Linked DNA regions of Homo sapiens: region 1 is linked to region 2. The links are contacts of gene promoters, found by promoter capture Hi-C in blood cells and fetal thymus (Javierre and others, 2016). All regions are on one chromosome and are shown on one strand. The core of a region is centred on a gene start or on the middle of the fragment in contact, and the rest is flanking DNA. Distances in the headings are between cores, read along the strand shown.

The links. The method cuts DNA at HindIII sites, captures the fragments that hold promoters and counts their contacts. A CHiCAGO score of 5 or more calls a contact.
Region 1: a fragment that was not itself captured here is called in contact with the fragment with the promoter of ABCB10 in region 2 in 4 of 17 cell types (neutrophils, megakaryocytes, naive B cells and 1 more); the score reaches 7.0 in neutrophils.

What each region holds. Positions count from the first base shown.
Region 1 is chr1:230,185,283-230,190,961 of GRCh38, reverse strand. All of the region lies in intron 2 of GALNT2 (polypeptide N-acetylgalactosaminyltransferase 2), which reads right to left. Among named protein-coding and RNA genes, the nearest start is that of GALNT2, 120 kb to the right of the region's middle. RefSeq lists enhancers at 3,779-4,517, 4,518-5,256. The HindIII fragment of the contact is 5,711 bases long and covers 1-5,522 here.
Region 2 is chr1:229,555,669-229,560,605 of GRCh38, reverse strand. ABCB10 (ATP binding cassette subfamily B member 10) reads left to right here and starts at 1,899. Exons shown (of 13, transcript NM_012089.3): 1 at 1,899-2,470. The coding sequence starts at 1,954. RefSeq lists an enhancer at 1,120-1,309 and silencers at 1,480-2,179, 2,240-2,689. The HindIII fragment of the contact is 4,467 bases long and covers 1-3,536 here.

The sequences.
Region 1 (5,679 bases), core at 1,418-3,917, 630 kb before region 2:
TGACCCTGCAATTTCACTTTTAGGAATTCATTTCAAGAAAATAATCATGGACTTAAACAAAGATTTACCTCTCAGGATACTGGCTGGAACCCCTCTTTATGTCCCACAACAAAAAATAAGTTCAATGAGCCGATGGCGGTCGAGATGTTGCTGCCATTAAAATGCTATAGGAGATGTTTATGGATGTGAAAAGGAGTTCCCGATATATCGCCCAAGCAGAGATGGTACACCACAGTGCTGTATTTGTAAAAATCTAGCTGTAAGCAGATGGTAGGGAACTGCCCATAGAAAAAGGCCCCGTTTCAGGAGAGAAGAGAGAGGAGGGTGGCCCCCGATCAGGGAGTCAGAGCCCAGAGGGGGCTCTGAAAGAGAGATGGGCGTGTGTGGAGAGACGTCTCAGCAAATCCCCCAAATCTACTGAAATGCTAGTCACCTTGTGGATGACCTGAATTTTCATAGAAATTCACGAAAAGATTGAACTTTGAATGTGGGATAAAACTCAGGACCTGTTGTCAGAGAGGCCAGATGCTTCAGGAGCATTTGGTCCCAGGAGCCAACTCTAAGAAACTGTGCAAGGCCTGAGGCTTCAAGTGCGTGGGTCTTGGCGCATCCCATGCAGAGGAGACCCCTTCGTCTCAGCTATGGGGGCAGCACACCCACCTGGGTATACGCCCAGGGCAAGTATGGAGGAACACGCAGTGGGAGAGGAATGGTGGTTGTTTCTGGATGGTAGAATTATGTATGAATATAATTTTCTTATTTTTGCTTATCTGAATTTCTAAAACGTACAATACACACATTGCTTGCTTTTTAAAAGATGCTTCCCTAAAGACACTGACAGCCACTTATTTTCCTTATGACAACACTGTGCAGATCACTGGCCTCAGGCCTGGCTCATGAAGAACTACGTAGACTTCGCTCCCCACAAGTGTCACACGGTTCCACCTCACACGACATGTATCACAGGGCACATGGTTCACAGAGACACAGGAAGGGAATTCTGACCCACAACATGGGTGAACCTGGAGGAGTTATGCTAAGTGAACAAGCCAGAAATAAAGGACAAGTACTGTAAGGCTGCACTCATATGAGGGACCCAGAGGAACCAAATTCATAGAAACAGGAATACCAGGGCCTGGGAGAGGGAGGAATGGGACATTGGTACTACATGGGTACAGTTTCCATTTTGCAAGATGAAAACAGCTCTAATTGATGGTGGTGATGACTGCACAACACTGTGAATGCGCTTAATGCCACGGACCTGTATGCTTAACAACGCTTAAAATGGCAACTTTAGTGTTACGCATCTTTTACCACAATTAAAAAGATAAATGCACAATGCCAGAACCCATTAAGTCACCTAGAAAAACAAAGGGTCGGGGAACACTCCTCTCTGATGCTGCAGCAATGCTGAACAAATAACACAAGTGGTTTATCTCATCTTTCTTCCGGCAGGTGGGAAGTAGAAAAGCTAAAACGTCTCTGTTAGGATCAGTGGCAATTCACACCCTGGATTTAAGTTCTCTTAACACATTTCATCATTCCCATTTCATTCATCTTTACGTGAACATTAGCAATTTCTGTTCTGAGAAATCCACTGTCTGGGGTAACTGAACCAACAGCACATCGGGGAGGGGTGGCTGTGATGAAGACACAGCCCAGGACCAGGATGGGGAGGGGGCTCAAGGAGAATCCAGACGGCCTTAGGACTCTCCTTTCTGAACTCTCTCCCTACCCTCGTCTCTCCTAAGCCTCAGCCCTTTACACAAGGTTACTAAGGAATACAAGAATGACACTAAGGTCTCATAAAGGCAAAGAGAAAATCTGCTCCAAAAGGCCACGTTGACCAAAGGGTGAGAGATCTCCAACAAGAACCTCATCAACAGCTGTCCTCAGAGGCAGACCTCGGCCTTCTAGCCCCTACAGCTGCCCCTGCTCCTCTTCCGGCCCCACTCCTCTACTGGCCCCTGCTCCTCTTCCGGCCCCCGCTCCTTTGCCAGTCCTTCTGCCAGCTGGCTGGCTGGTCAGATTCAGAGACAATTACAGGGAGAAACTTATTTTTCAATCCAGAAGTTTTTCCACACCAAGGGGAAAAAATGACATTCTTCTCTATCAGATAGATTTCCAAAATACAAAATATTGACTAATATACATACTCTATTTGAAGACAATATTTTAAAAACCAACACTGAAAAAAAAAATTCAGTGGTTCCAAGTAGAAAGCATGATGCTGAAATAGAAGCAAGGGTCACAGAGTTTATGGGCAAAAACTCATCCACAGTAGACCTGAAATGTGGTATGAGGGTGGGGGGAACTACAGAGATATATTTTTACAGCATGTAAAAGAAAATAAAATTGGTGATTCCAATCTGAGAATAGAGATTAAAGGGAAATGGTAAGACACAGTTAACAGAATCAAAGAGTTTTAGAGCAAGAATGTATCTAAATTTTACAGACAAGGAAAACAAAACCCAAATACTCCTTAACTTGTCTAAGGCCACAGGACTGGTGGCACAGCTGAGCCTAGAGCTCCCGGCCATCATCCTTGTTCCGAACCCAGATCCCGTGCTCCCAGGTTATTGTTCTTGCCCCCATTCCATGACTTCCAGCTGGGACTGCCACTTGGGTGGTATACTTTATACAAATTCCAGATTCTTCCCCAAAGTACGATGAACCAAGGCAAGAAATAGAGTTAAAACAATAATCTGGGTTTTTGTGACCACGGCAGCCCCAAGAGTGGTAGTCTCCAAAGTGGGGCCACATAAGACAATCTTCTGGGGCAAAGAAAGAAAATGACAGACATTGTCAAGTATTTTCCTCATCCTTTATAATAGCTTATTTTAAATACACTTTATGATACAAACAGGAGGCAGGGAAATACTGGGTAGGAGAGAGTGGTCCCTAGCAAACGCCACACCCTCAAGCCTGGAACCGTAGGGCCCAAAGTGAGAACATGCATTTCTGTTTTCCTGCCCGAATGTTGCCTTTTCCAAAACCACCCCGGCCCGCCCCACCCTCCATCTTGTACCCATAAAAACCCCAGGCCCTACCAGCAAAGCAATAGAGAAGGAGAGAAGAAACAGCCGGATGTTGGAGAGAATCAGCTTGATTTCAGAGGGACAGCTTGACAGCAGGACTTTGGAGAAGAGTTTGGCTGGGGACAGCAGGACTCCAGGGGAAGACCATCTTCCCACTTAACCCCCTTTCTAGCTTCCCATCCCACTGAGAGCCACTTCCAGTGCTCAATAAAGTCCTCCACATTCACCATCCTTCAATTTGTTTGCACAACTTGATTCTTCCTGGACACCGGACGAGAATTCAGGTACCAAGAGGGTGGATGCAAAAGGCTGTCACACTGACCTTGCACTGAGCTAACACTTAAGTCATCTGTGGACAGCAAATCTAAGAGCACACTGTAACATATGCCCTCTAGGGCTCCAGGGGTCACAGGTAGCCCCACCCAGATGCTGCCGGGGGGCTGCACAGAGTTCTACTCCTGCCGATGCCCAAAAGCACTCACCCCAGCCCCTGCACCCACTCACCTGCATGCTGCTCCTCCCATGAGGGGCTGAGAGCTGTGGGCTGAGTCCTGTGAAGGGGTCAAGGGAACTATCCCATTTCATTTAGAATGTATCAATAAATCTGTACGGCAATATGCATGTAATTCCTAAGTAAGCATTTTAATACATATGTGTGTGGGAGGTGGTCTAAATATACGTCTGTTCATAGAGTGTGCGATCAGAAAATTGGAGACTGTTGGCCTGGAACATCACTGCTCTGCCCTGTTAGATCTGGCTCCTTCATCTGTCAGTGGGTTCTGTGGCCATAAAAGCATCCAGCTTGGTGTCATGTCTTCCCGCCCATCTGTCTACAACTGCTACATGCCCAACACACAGAACACAGGAAGCCACTGAGCTTCCTGAACACACCACTGACACACTGGGAAGTGCCATGGCCAGCGGTTTCTTGCAAACCATAAAACTTTAGCTGTGTTCCTCATGCTTAGGGAAAATGTATTTTTCAATCACAAGAAAATAATTTCTAACAACAAAAAAATTATGTGTATGTTGGTTTAGTAAGAAAAATGGTTTCAACATAAAAAGGAAAGAAAGCCCTTTGGCAAAATAAAAAGACATTGTGCATTTATCAAAAATTACTACTAATAACTCAAAAGAGAGGCAAATCAGTACATTCTGATCTCTTTGAAGATAAGAAAACCAACTGTATGCAATAGTTAAGGATATGAAAGGCAGAGTCAATGTGAGCACTCAAATGATTTTAAGTAAGGTATGACTCTCAATGGTCAAATCCAGCCTATGACCTGAAGATGGCTTTTCCCTCCCTCTCTCTATTTGCCTGAAAACCATCAGAACACTTGTATGTTTTTAATAGAAGATAATCCATAGGAAGTCTCTCATTAATCCACACAACAGAAGTGTGTATCCTAGCTTCCTATTATTATAATAAAGGAATATTAACTATTCTATTCAGATGCTCCCCATTGTGTGGGTAATGTTTACTTTACATATGAAAGAACTGTGGCTCAGGGCTTCATGACTCATCCAGGAGCTGGAAAGATGACAGGGAGGCCGACTTAACACACAAATTGACTGCATGCATGCGTCCAGTCAGAGTTCCTGGAGGAGACAGTGACATACCTGCATCTGGTGTAGGTGGGACAACGCATGGGGAGGGCACAAAGGAGGGGCTTGGACTCCCTGGGGTGACGCTTGTCCAACCACAGTCAAGAACACAACGTGCAAACACTCTCACCAGCAAACACTCTCACCAGCAAACACTCTTGCCAGCAAAGCAAACACTTCATAAACGGACGTCCAGTTCCCAATAGGCATGTAAGGAGCTTGAAAGTCGTTATTCCGTCCTAACAGTAAAAAGCTGAATAAAATGAAAAATCAGCACTTCTTAGAGATCTGCCTTGGATCTGTTGGAGAAATGTCACAAGCCACAGCCCCCCAAATTGGACAGGTGAATACAAGGAATCACAATTCACTGGAGCAGAAGCCTGTAAGTAGAAACCCCTGAAGATCCACTACGGGGGTAGGAAAACCTAAACTGTAGTGGAAAATTCCTGGAGGCTCACTGTGGACAAGCCTAAGAGATTAAAAACTCCAGGGGGACCCAGTCATGGGGGTGTGGCAGCTATATTTGTGTGAGTTTTACCTCCTGGAGCTCTACCAGATCCTCACAGTGAATATTGAAGAAATATCCCCTCATGCTTACAACAGTGAGAGGGGAAAATAACCATTTTGAAAGAAGCCAGGGCACTGTGTTCTTATTAATAAGGCCTGCCATCGGGAGAAACTATTTAAACAGGGACTAAACTGCTAGCATTTATCAGAGCCTGTCCAATCTGAGGAACAGGAAATAACCAGCCTCTGCTAGACTTTAGTATCACCTAAGGATGTGGAGAGGGGGAAGCTGAGAAGCAAATGTGAGGCTCACAGCCCAGACACAAAGGTTCCCTAAAAGAATGAGACCAAATCATAGGACTATAGCAAGCTTCCCCTCCCACTACACCTTAACACCACACAACTAAAGGCCTGTTTACCAGGGTTCCGTGCACCAAGTCCATCACATCCAGCTTTCAACATAAAATTACAAGGCACACTAAGAGGTTAAACACACACACACACGCGCGCACACACACACACACACACA
Region 2 (4,937 bases), core at 650-3,149:
CGCTACCTCCTCTTTTTTTTTCTTTTCTTTTTTTTTTTTGAGACGGAGTCTTGCTCTGTCTCCCAGGCTGGAGTGCGGTGTGGCACCATCTCAGCTCACTGCAACCTCCGCCTCCCGGGTTCAAGCAATTCTCCTGCCTCAGCCTCCTGCGTAGCTGGGATTACAGGCACGCTCCACCACACCTGGCTAATTTTTGTATTTTTAGTAGGGACGGGGTTTCACCACGTCGGTCAGGCTGGTCTCGAACTCCTGACCTCGTGATTCGCCCGCCTCAGCCTCCCAAAATGTTGGGATTACAGGTGTGAGCCACCGCGCCCGGCCGCTACCTCCTTTTTGAGCCCAACTAAAGAAACATCAAGGATTGATACCCTCCCAGTTGAAGAGAAAGTGACAACTTTAACCCAAATCTCACCTTCCTCTTACTTTCTCTTTCCCATTTTCCAGCTGCCAAACTAAGGGCAGCTGCTGTCAGTTTTTGTAAATAAAGTTTCCAGGGCTGGGATTAGAGCGAGAGAAGAGAGGCAGGATTGTGAAAGGTCAGGAGTGGATACTCAATCAAAATTTTTTATATTTTGTTCATTACGGATTTTTTAAATTAATTTTGATTTTTAAAAATATTGCACTAAAATGTTTATGTTGATTATTGAGGTTTTTTTATTTTGTGAACCCATAAAATTTGCAACTGACAGTACCCTGTCCAGGTCCAGTAAAAATACCTAGGAGTCTACAAAAATCTACCCACGACTCACTGGACCTCAGGTACATATCCCCCCCCGCCCCCATGAAGTCTCCATAAAGTGTCCCAGTGAGTTTTAATGTTCTCTCCTGTCTTTCCATGCACGTGTATTAAGATGCATTGCCTTCTGATTAGTGTTTTCCACTTCGAACAGCGGGAATGCCTCGACCACGCCTGTCTTCAAATTTCTGCTCTAGTTAAGAAACGATCTCAGGCCGGGCACGGTGGCTCACGCCTGCAATCCCAGCACTTTGGGAGGCTGACGCGGGCGGATCACCTGAGGTCAGGAGTTCGAAAAGAGCCTGACCAACATGGTAAAACCCCGTCTCTACTAAAAATACAAAATCAGCCGGGTGTGGTGGCGTATGCCTGTAATCCCAGCTACTTGGGAGGCTGAGAAGGGAGAATCACTTGAACCTGGGAGGCAGAGGTTGCAGTGAGCCGAGATCGTCTCAAGAAAAAAAAAAAAAAGAAAAAAAAGAAACGATCTCTTCCCTTCTCAAAGTTATATACATTTCACTATTCGCCAACCACCTCCTCCACGCCGTCCAGAGCTGAGCTGACACGCAGCGAAGTCCTCTCAGTGGTCCCTCCGCACCTCAGCCCTGTGCTTGGCAGCGAGACGAGTGACAGGGCCGCCCCAGCATGGGTCTCCCGGGCCGCGGACCCGCCCCACGCCGTATCCAGCACGCTGTCCTCCCGCCCCATCTTTGTGCCGGCCATCGTGTGGTCGCGTCTGCGCGCTCCGCCCGGTCTGCCGGCGTGAGAAAGAGCTCGTGTCGTTCCCAAGTTCAGACCAGAGGGGACGGCGAAGCGCGAAAAAGTTCCCTGCGCCCAGTACGCAGGCGCAGCCGTGCTCCTGGGCTTCCCGGGCCTCGTCCCAGCTGGCGCGCCCGGCGCTCCTCCGCCAGCGGGCAGTTGGGGGCGCTGCAGGGAGGGCACCCGAGCGGGTTGGGGGCGCTCGGAAGGGTGGCTTGCAAGGTCCGGGTAGCTGCAGTCCCCGGAGTGGGGCGGAGAGGCGCGGCACCGCGCGGACGAGGATGGGGCGGGGGCGGGCGCAGCCCGAGGGTGCAGGCACGATAAGGCGGGTGACAGCCAGCGGGGAGGGGCGGGCGCCACCGCGTCCACGCCCTTTGCTCGGGGCCGGGCCGGGAGGGTCCTCGGGCTTTGCGCGCGCCTGGCCGGCGGGCTGAGGCGTACGGGTCGCACGCAGCGCCATGCGAGGCCCCCCTGCCTGGCCGCTGCGGCTGCTCGAGCCACCGAGCCCTGCCGAGCCAGGTCGGCTCCTGCCGGTAGCCTGCGTGTGGGCCGCGGCCAGCCGCGTTCCCGGGTCCCTATCGCCGTTCACTGGCCTGAGGCCGGCGCGGCTATGGGGCGCGGGGCCCGCGCTGCTCTGGGGCGTTGGAGCCGCGCGCCGCTGGAGGAGCGGCTGCCGGGGCGGGGGTCCGGGCGCCTCGCGGGGCGTCCTGGGCCTCGCGCGGCTCCTGGGGCTGTGGGCTCGCGGCCCCGGCAGCTGCAGGTGCGGGGCTTTTGCCGGGCCAGGCGCTCCTCGGCTCCCGCGCGCCCGGTTCCCGGGCGGTCCCGCAGCCGCTGCCTGGGCAGGGGACGAGGCCTGGCGGCGCGGGCCGGCGGCGCCTCCCGGGGACAAGGGGCGGCTGCGCCCCGCAGCGGCCGGACTCCCGGAGGCCCGGAAGCTCCTGGGGCTGGCGTACCCTGAGCGCCGGAGGCTGGCAGGTAGGGTCCTCCCCGGCCACTTCCCTCCGCCGGGCCTCTCCTTCTCCACACGCGGGGTCCCGGGGCGCCGAGAGGGACACGGCCGGGCCGCAGAGCGCGTGTCACCGCCGCCTCTCCTGGGCCACTCCTAACCCCGGAGGAGGGAGGGGATCGCTCACCTCAGAGTAGCGTTGTCAAGATTTCGCCTTAGCTGGGGACTCGTTTGCAGATTTTACACTTGTTTTCTTGTTGACACACGTTATATATGTCATTATTGGAATCTTTGGGTCTGTTCCACCACCAACTTAGTGGGAGCATCTGTTTTGGCTTAGGCAGCAAAATGAGCTGGAGGTTTTTCCTTGGAAAAAAAAATTCTAGCCAAAAATATGCCTATTTTGTTATTAGGCGTTTATACTTTTTTTTTTTAACCAAAAACACATTATTTGCTTCAAGCGAGTCTGTCAAGCAGTCACCAATGCTTTCACAGCGGAAAGCAAAACTTTCAGACTTGTCTCTTGTGCAGGAAGTTACAGCACTGTGTTCAACAGGCCACACCAGTGATCTGTTCAGTAATTGAGTAACTTTTTTAAAAGAAGCCAAAATGAATGTTTTTAGAAACAAAATTTAAATAGGACAGTTTTCTATAGCTCCTCATTTTTTAGCCATAATTGGAGGAGTGTTTAGATGCAAGGGCCTTGTAAGATCTAAAATTTTTTCGATTTCTCTAAATCTTCACTCCTTCTATAAACATCTGTTGAGCCCTCATTCTGGACTGGGCCCTGGGTTTACAGTGGCATGCACAAGGAAACATGGTCCTCACTTCTGCTGGGGCTTCTAGGTTAGTGGGGAGAAGCATCTATGAAATATTCGTATGTATAGAGGTAAACCTGCACCTGTGGGCTGTGGAAGGGGGCCTGTGGGGCCTGTGAGGTTGTCAGGTGCAACACCAGAAAAGCATTCTTTGCTGCAAATCCATTGCTTTAGAAAGGACCCTCCTGGGTAGTGATTTGGGATTTAGAGTAGGTTTGCACAGTGGAGGAGAGCAGTTAGGGTGGCGACTTTTCATCTACCAGTTGCTATGAAAGCTTAGGGGGCTGTTGATATCACTCGGGTGTAAAGAGAATTATTTCATTGTTCAGTTGGTTGAGTGTAGATTTTGTTGTAAAATATCTTTTTCTCTTTCCTCTTTTTAAAAACATTGGAGACTAGGAGCTCTCACTGGACTTTGAGCTGCTTGAGACGGGGACTGTGCGATTCATCTTTCTGTCTCTAGTTCTTAGCATGTGCACGGCACAGAGCAGGCGCTCAGAGTGCCTTCAGTGAAGGAATAAATGACCATACCACCAGGCACAGAGTGAGGCCTTTAGAAACCCTGAGCATCATCGGGTGCGCCCACCACTTCTGTATGTGACTCAAAGTAAGTGTAAGGAAATCCAGTTCTGTTTTGTTTCTGAAATACTAGATGTCAGGAAGGGTGTTTAGGTGTCAGGCTTTGGTGGCCTACACGTGCCCAGTCCTCTTATGCCATGACCATTGTTCCTGTGACCCCTCACTCTGTCCCCAGATATCCTGCCATGCTAGTATGTTTTGGTGACAGCCTTAAACAAGACGAGACTGCCTCCTTTTTTCTTTCTTCTTTTGTTTTTCTGGGATAGGGGTCTCACTGTGTTGCTGAGACTTGTGTTGAACTCCTCAGCTCAAGCAGCTCTGCCTCTACCTCCTGAGTAGTTGGGACTACAGGCATGTGCCACCACACCCAGCTCGTACCTTTTTTTTTTTTTTTTGAGATGGAGTTTTGCTCTTGTTGCCCAGGCTGGAGTGCAATGGCGTGATCTCACCTCACCGCAACCTCCGCCTCCCGGGTTCAAGCGATCTTCCTGCCTCAGCCTCCCAAGTAGCTGGGATTACAGGCATGTGCCATCATACCCGGCTAATTTTGTATTTTTGGAGACAGAGTTTCTCCATGTTGGTCAGGGTGGTCTCGAACTCCCGACCTCGGGTGATCTGCCCACCTTGGCCTTCCAAAGGTGCTGGGATTACAGGTGTGAGCCACTGCACCCGGCCTTCTTTTTATTTTAAGAACAGAATATATTTTGTTCCACCACATTGAGAAATTATGAATATATAATTTGAAGAAACAAGCCTAGGGTTGGCACACTATTTTTTTTTTTTTTTTTGCTTTTCAAACAGATAAATACATATTGTATGTTATGAGGATAAGGATATCTGATAAAAAGCCCTTATTTAGATGTATGATTTCCTGAGAAGTTATTATATATTAAAGCCAGTTAGGATTAAGAGGAAGTGGTGGTCATTGTTAATTTGTAATTAAAAAAAAATGTGTAATTTATCATTCTAAGAGCAGCCTGAGGTGTTGGCACATCTCTTTGAAATGCTGGAGGTAAAGAGCAATTGCGTGTGTGTATTTTCTAATCAAAACACTAAAAAAGCTGAGCTGAAAAGGAATTCCAATGTTAATTTGTTAATT